3 separate regions of the Homo sapiens genome follow, and regions 2 and 3 are each linked to region 1. The links are contacts of gene promoters, found by promoter capture Hi-C in blood cells and fetal thymus (Javierre and others, 2016). All regions are on one chromosome and are shown on one strand. The core of a region is centred on a gene start or on the middle of the fragment in contact, and the rest is flanking DNA. Distances in the headings are between cores, read along the strand shown.

The links. The method cuts DNA at HindIII sites, captures the fragments that hold promoters and counts their contacts. A CHiCAGO score of 5 or more calls a contact.
Region 2: a fragment that was not itself captured here is called in contact with the fragment with the promoter of TCN1 in region 1 in 4 of 17 cell types (erythroblasts, M2 macrophages, M1 macrophages and 1 more); the score reaches 6.4 in erythroblasts.
Region 3: a fragment that was not itself captured here is called in contact with the fragment with the promoter of TCN1 in region 1 in 4 of 17 cell types (M2 macrophages, erythroblasts, M0 macrophages and 1 more); the score reaches 7.6 in M2 macrophages.

Annotation. Positions count from the first base shown.
Region 1 is chr11:59,865,194-59,867,893 of GRCh38, reverse strand. TCN1 (transcobalamin 1) reads left to right here and starts at 1,407. Exons shown (of 9, transcript NM_001062.4): 1 at 1,407-1,502. The coding sequence starts at 1,424. The HindIII fragment of the contact is 12,351 bases long and covers 1-2,700 here.
Region 2 is chr11:60,126,332-60,129,031 of GRCh38, reverse strand. No RefSeq gene overlaps it. Among named protein-coding and RNA genes, the nearest start is that of LINC02705, 37 kb to the left of the region's middle. The HindIII fragment of the contact is 860 bases long and covers 918-1,777 here.
Region 3 is chr11:60,145,235-60,147,934 of GRCh38, reverse strand. No RefSeq gene overlaps it. Among named protein-coding and RNA genes, the nearest start is that of LINC02705, 18 kb to the left of the region's middle. The HindIII fragment of the contact is 1,328 bases long and covers 680-2,007 here.

The DNA of each region.
Region 1 (2,700 bases), core at 158-2,657:
TCTCCAATACTGCCTGCTTCAATTTCAGACTTACAACTTTTACTTCCGTTTTTAAATTTTTTTATTTCAATTTTTGTAGGTACATAGTAGGTGTATATATTTATGGGGCTCATGAAATGTTTTGATACAGGCATGCAATGCGTAATAATCACATCATAGAGAAGGGGGTATTCATCCTGTCAAGCATTTATCCTTTACGTTACAAACAATCCAGTTATACTATTAGTTATTTAAAATGTACAATTAAATTATTATTGACTATAGTCACCCTGTTATGCTACCAATAGTAGGTCTTATTCATTCTTTCCAATATTTTGTACCCATTAACCCTCCGCATCTCCTTCCCACCACTAGCCTTCCCAGCCCCCAGTAACCATCTTTTCATTCTCTATCTCTATGAATTCAATTGTTTTGATTTTTAGATCCCACAAATAAGTGAGAACATGCAATGTATGTCTTTCTGTGCCTGGCTTATTTCACTTAACATAATTATCTCCAGTTCCATCCATTTTGTCACAACTGACAGGATTTCATTCTTTTATATGGCTGAATAGTACTCCATTGTGTATATGTACATTTGCTGTGTTCATTTATCTGTTGATAGACACTTAGCTTGCTTCCAAATCTTGGTTATTGTAAACAGTGCTGCAACAAACATGGGAGTGCAGATATCTCTTCAATATACTGGTCTTCTTTCTTTTGGGTATATAGCCAGCAGTGGGATTGCTGGATCATATGGTAGCTCTATGTTTAGTTTTTTGAGGAAGCTCCAAACTGTTCTCCATAGTGATTGTACTAATTTACATTCCCACCAACAGTGTACAAGGCTTCCCTTTTCTCTACATCCGTGCCAGCATTTGTTATTGCCTGTGTTTTGAATAAAGCCATTTTTAGCTGAGATGAGAGGATATCTCATTGTAGCTTTGATTTCCATTTATCTGATGATCAATGATGTTAAGCACCTTTTCAAGCACTTTTTCATATGCCTGCTTCCCATTTGGATGTCTTCTTTTACTTCCATTTTTATATGTTGTATGTGTTTGCATGATCAAATCTACTTTATCAGGAAACATAAAACATAAAGTGAAACGGAAAAAAAAGGAAAGATTATAGGAAACAGTCATTTGCCTAATATATCTTCACTGCACGGAAGGCAAATAATAGATATGAAACCCGAAGGTTTAGGACAGGAGACAAAGGAAAGTTATTGCCTTATTCTCCCTAACCACATCCTTCAAGTCTTCTTCCTTATTTATTACATCACATGGACAAATACACTTGACCACACCTCCTGACATTGCTCAATATTTGCTTGAGTGAAAAGAGGCTGAGGCAACCTGAAGGAGGAGCTCTCATTACCTTCTGCCCATCACTTAATAAATAGCCAGCCAATTCATCAACATTCTGGTACACTGTTGGAGAGATGAGACAGTCACACCAGCTGCCCCTAGTGGGGCTCTTACTGTTTTCTTTTATTCCAAGCCAACTATGCGAGATTTGTGGTGAGTAAACTTTGAGCTAAAATTACTCTAGAGTGATAGTCTACTGAAAACTGTTGACAAGAGACTCTATGTAGAGTTACCTGAGAAAAGATCCCATTCCAGTTTCGTATGTGGTTGGACTCCATGAATGATGAAAAGGGTGGCAGGAGATGGTGAGGAAAGTCTCACAATGCATGTTGTTGTAAGAGGAATTATAGATTGTGTATTCACTTGCCTAACTGCTCTTTCTATGCTCAGATCCTCTCTAGCACAGCATCCCTACCAAGTAACTCCCTATTCATGTGACTTTTCAATGACAGAAAATTTATGCTCCCAGAAACTTTTCTAGATCATGGAAAGTTATCTTTTGGTCTTGATATGCAATCTTTTTTCCCTGAAATTCAATGCATGATTTTTGGGTTAACCCCTTGTAACTACATAGAAAAAAATAATAATCTCTTTCAAATAGTGATGACTGCTGTCTTGTCATGAGTGAGTTTAGATGTTCCAAGTTGCATGTCCACCTTCCTTCAACTCTTTCCCAGGACACATGGGATAAAGTTCCATCATCTCTTGCATGGGTGTTGACCCCAGAGATTGTGTGGTTCTGTAAAAGAACTTTAAAGTAAGAGAAGGGAAAACTAAATTCAGGTTTAGTTTGATCCCTTAGTTATTGAATGACCCAACATTTCTGAATTTCTTTAGCTTCATTCATAAATAAAGGATAATGAGGGGAGACTATTGAAGCAAATTATCTCATGAAGTCTGGTGCAGTTCTCAAGTGCATGAATTCTCTTTTGTGAGACTTTACTCTGAAATTGAGCTTCAAACCAGTCCAAAGATTACTAGGTGGTACTATCTGTGCTCTCTAACCAGTAAGAAGAGAACACCACAGAAGACAGGCTTGTATACATACAGGCTAAAGCATAGACTCTTCTGACTCTGATTTTTCTTCTTGGCTTGACATTTCCCCTGTTGGATCCTAAGAATAGGGAATGGCTATGTAGGTTTTAGCTTTCAATTCATTTTAAATAATAATGATAATAATTAAATTTATCTTTGAGACTCAAGGAAGCTGATTTGAGTTGTTGATCAGGAACTAAAAAGTCTGTTTCAGGGCCAGAAAATCTGCTGAGCTGGATGGTTCCACAAAATCTCAGAGAACTGACTCACAATTGTTCCATTGTGTCTGCAACAAACCATGACCTTTCTACAATCA
Region 2 (2,700 bases), core at 98-2,597, 260 kb before region 1:
CATGCCTGTAATCCTAGCACTTTGGGAGGCCGAGGTGGGTGGATCACCAGAGGTCAGGAGTTCAAGACCAGCCTGGCCAACATGGTGAAACCCTGTCTCTACTAAAAATACAAAAAATTAGCCAGACTTGGTGGTGGACACCTATAATCCCACCTACTTGGGAGGCTGAGGCAGGAGAATTGCTTGAACCTGCGAGGCAGAGGTTGCAGTGAGCCAAGATCATGCCATTGCGCTGCAGCCCAGGTGACAGAGTGAGACTCCATCTCAAAAAAAAAAAAAAAAAGAAAAGAAAGAAAGAAAAAGAAAAAAAATTAAATTTCTATGCTTAACCTCACTCTGATGTGTCTGCCTCCTAGCTTTAAATGACGTGGGACAACAAACCTTGGGTGTTACCCCAGACAATGATGCCACTACATTATGCTGGCCAGAAAGGTTATGGGAGGGGAGAGAAGAGGAATTGTATTGAGGATATTACTAGGAAGAATAAAAGGATCCCTGGGAACAGATTAACTTTTAAATAACTCTCTTTGACAGTGAAAGGGTCTATTCAGGCGTTGTTACATTTTTGGTTTTACAGAAAAGCAAAGAAAAAACCAATTGTTCTTCTTGGTGGATCTGGAATTTAGGCAGATAAAGGCACTTCAACTTCTTTGGGAGAGATGATGGAAGCCCGGGGAAGGTCAGAAAGACCTTGAGGTTTCTTCAGTTCAGCAAGTTAAAGTGCCATAATTTGAGTTATTAGCTTCTGAGCTCCAACATTAACCAGACAATCAGATTTAATTCAGTGAGCTGTAAACACCCTAAGAGCCGTTAGAGAGGCAGTTAAGTCTTCATGCTTCTGGAACCATATTGTAAAAAAAAAAACATATTGTAAAAAACAAACCAAACTATCCTTGAAAAATTCCAGCCCCCAAGCTTTCAAGGAGGCTGATCTGAGTAATAAACTCCTGATCTATAGCAAGGTCTTACAGTCTTCGAGGAAGGAAGTCTCAGCAGACAAGTCTTTCAAAATGTTTTATATTTCAATTATATTATATATTTTTCTTATTGGTACCAGTGTGATAACAGCAAAAACAATGTAGACACTCCATTCAGAGGTGCTAGATTTTAAATTGTAGCTCTAATACTTATTAAAGAAATCATCTCTGGATTTTTTTATAGTTTTTAAGAATGAAACTCCCTTTGCAAAGACTATGACAGTGAGAGAAGTCTAGCATGGCTGATTTCTTCTTGCTTTTAGACTCATACATTGGCTGCCCTTGGTCATTTCTGGGTGTAGGCCAAGCTAACCATGGGAGGAATTAGGTTATAGTTTAACGTTGAAGCAAAAATGATAATAGTGCCTCTGTAAAACAAATCTCCTTGCTCAGAGACAAAACTGCCTTTGTAAAACTAATGAAAGATTAGGATTATGGGAGAGGCCTGAATTCTGCTAAAATGTAGGCAAACCTAGATAATAACCAGCCGTTGTTCTGGAGGTCACAAGATTTGCAACTTCTCCAATTTCTCCTATAGATAATATCACTATTGTAGAACCTAACATGGGTCTTTTGAGATGTTTTTCAGACTTTTGCATTCTGATGACGATGACCTACTAACTCCACCTGGACTCATGACTCATGACTCAACTGATCCTGTGGTCCCCACCCAGAGGCTGACTCTGCACACAGGAACTATTTTTCAAACCCCTATGATATCATCCCCAACCAATCAGCATTACCCATCTCCTAGCCCCTTACAAACCAAACTATCCTTGAAAAACTCTAGCCCCCAAGCTTTCAAGGAGGCTGATTTGAGTAATAAACCCCTGTCCTTCCATTTGGCTAGCTCTGTATTTATTAAAATCTTTACTGTAATACTGCTGTCTACGAATCGGCTGTAGCTGTGCAGTGGGCAATTACAAAAATAAAAGCGTTGTTAGTATCAAACCTGCTAACATATATAAGTCATTCAATGGGGTTGCCTCATATTGGGCTCTCAGAAATATTATTTTCTTTTTATGTTTATAAGTATCTATGATGTTACGATAGATATAATTTGTTTTTGTCCATCCGTGACTCCTAGTTTTCAACTAGGAAGATTCCTATAAGACTTCTCATGCCCCAAGTACTAAAGCAGTAAGAATATCTTTTGTTAAAGTATTTGATTATCCTTGGTTCCTGAAGTCACTCCTAAAAGATAAAGTTGAAAGACAGTCTTTTGTTATTTACAACAAGTGCTTTAAAATACTCCTAAGCTAGAGATATACCCAATGTAAATAAACAAGTTAACGGGTGCAGCACACCAACATGGCACATGTATACATATGTAACAAACCTGCATGTTGTGCACATGTACCCCAGAACTTAAAGTATAATAATAAAAAAAATTGTGAAAGAAAAAGAAAAAGTTGATGAATCTAGGTAAAGGCATATGAGAGTTCATTTTACAATTTTTGTAACTTTTCTAAAGGTTTAAACTTTTTTTAATAAAAAGTTTTTTAAAAAGAAAAAATAAATACATAAAATAAAATACTCCTAAGCTTATGTTAATAAGACAATTTTTAGAAAGCCCTAGAAACAACTGGTTGGAGGGCTGATTCCCAGGGGAATGATTCATTGTGCCCAGAGGGTTGGATTTTTTTGTCTCAACCCTCAACTTCCAGGAAGGGGAAGAGGGGCTGAAAATTCAGTTAATCACTAATGACCAATGGTTCAATTA
Region 3 (2,700 bases), core at 94-2,593, 280 kb before region 1:
TAACTTTTGGAGACTTCTTAGTTTTATTTAGGAGACTAGATTCGGTAGGGAGATCTGGGTCCATTACCATTTCTCCATGAATTCCCTATCCGTTGAAAAAATGTGCAGATACTGCATTTTTTTCTGACGTCTGAGAAGAGATCCTATTTTTTTTTTTTGCACATGAAAGTGTTTATTAATCAGGAACTTTTGAACTTTCTCCCTAGACCCTTATCCATTGGACTGTCTTCGGGCCTTTTTCTTTAACTTTTATTTTAAGTTCATGGGTACAAGTGCAGGTTTCTTATATAGATAAACTTGTGGCATTGGAACGTGCTGTACAGACTATTTCATCACCCAGGTATTAAGCCTAGTACCCATTAGTTATTTTTCCTGATCCTCTCCCTGCTCCCACCCTCCAACCTCTGAAAGCCCTCAGCAAAATGATCGTTGGGAATACTGGAAAGTTACCGAGACTATTTTTTAATACAGGCACTGTTGCGTTAAAATTCAAAGTAACGCTGGCTTTTTGTTGTTATTGTTTGCTTTGTTTTGTTTTGTGTTGGTGTTTTGTTTTATTTTTTTGAAATCCACTTCTTCTTCAAAAGCAGAACATATATTTTTGAATTGAGATTCAAACTCGTGTCATCATTTTGTTTAATGCAAAGTGGAGGGGACTCCAAAGGCCTGAGATGAAGCTTTAGGATACAAGTCTTGATACGACCATGAGGTGGAATCCCAGCCAACGGAATTCTGTTCTCTTTAACGGGGCCTTGTGATTGTACTGATGATGCTAAACTGCTTGCAACTTTCAATTACTTTTGCTCTCTGCACACTCACCTATACTGCAGATGGCAGTAAAATCAGTTGGGTGAGTAACAGTTGAGAGAATGAGGATGCAATTGATTATTTTATTTAGTAATCTTGCATATAATTTTTCAAATATTTGTTAAGAGGAAGAAAGGCACAGCTGTTGTTCGTGTATAGTTTTTGAGGACCACTCCTCAAACAGTATTTTGGTCATATTTGCCCTACATTTATAAACACCTAGGATACTCAGAAACTCTCAACGGTAACACCAAGTAATTCAATATTATTTGTTAATTGATTCATTAGTTGATTTAATATCTATTGAACACTTATTTGTTTGATACACTGTGCACATGGTAAGGATATGAAAGTAGGCCATTCACTTCAAAAAAACTCAAAGTAGGCTGGGCGCAGTAGCTCACACCTGTAATCCTAGCACTTTGGGAGGCGGAGGCAGGTAGATCACATGAGGCCAGGAGTTTGAGACCAGCTTGACCAACATGGAGAAACCCCATCTCTACTATAAATACAAAAATTAGTTGGGCGTGGCGGTGCACGTCTGTAATCGCAGCTGCTCAGGAGGCTGAGGCACAAGAGTCACTTGAACCTGGGAGGCGGAGTTTGCAGTGAGCTGAGATTATACCACTGCACTCCAACCTGGGTGACAGAAGGAAATTGTGTCTCAAAAAACAAAACAAAACAAAACACTCAAAGTATATAAAGTCAATTGCCCAATGAAGAAATAAATTGGCCCTGGCGTAGTGGTTCATGCCTGTAATCTTAGTACTTTGGGAAGCTGAGGTGAGAGGATTACTTGAGTCCAGGAGTTCAAGACAAAGCTGGGCAACAGAGTGAGACCCCATCTCTACAGAAAATAAAACATTGGCCGGATGTGTGGCACATGCCTGTAGTACTAGCTACTTGGGAGACTGAGGTGGTAGAACTGTTTGAGCCCAGGAGACTGAGATTACAGTAAGTGTTGATTGAACAGTGCACTTCACCTTGGGTGACAAAAAGAAAGAGATAAATTATACTACTGTGATACAGTACATTTAACATGCTGTGAACTAGGACTATATACAAAGTGATTTAAAGAAATTGTCATTTGATTTTCCTGTTCTGCAACAGCTCAGGAGTAGGTAGTCCGTACCCGGGAGTATAGCTTTGCTTTCTTCCTTGTGTGGCTTCTTTTAAGGTATGAAAGTTGTAACTAAAGCTTTTTCCTTTATGTCTGCATCATATGGACAGATCTTTGTCATATAACCACACACAGTTATGAGTGGTGACGAAATCTAGCTATTGACTGAGCAGTTGTATGTCTAGGTTAAAACCAGGAGCTCTATTCAAGGAAGCAAGATCAGAATAAAAATTGCTAGACAATCCACATTCTCTGGCCCTAACACAGTCTTTTCTCTGGCCACCCAAATGTTCAACTCTCTCCCCAAAAAGGAAATGCACTTATTTTCTCATCGAGGTAGAAAATCCAGAGTCTCAGACATTTGTTATACTTAGCACAATCTCAGGAAATTTTTAATGATTTAACATTATTTTTCCTACAATTCTGGAACCACTTTCTTGTTATTTGGGAAATCATGTTGTCTGTACTTTCCCACACTCACAGTCAAAATACCATGATCAATTAGGAGGATTAAAAAGAATAAAAACATCTAGTTGGACAAAGAAATAATTAGTAATCCTGGAGTTACCTATTCATAGACTTTATTTGATTCTCTTAGGCAGGAATTGAGATTTGCTCCCCAAGAAATACAGCAAGATCTGCTTATAATATGGTTTTCATCTCTGCTCATTCTGGCCTTTTACTTATTACCCTCTGGGTATTGGGAAGTTTGCCCCATTTTTCCATCCACTTCCTGATGGTGCAGGGGAACTGGAGATTGCATTACATGACAA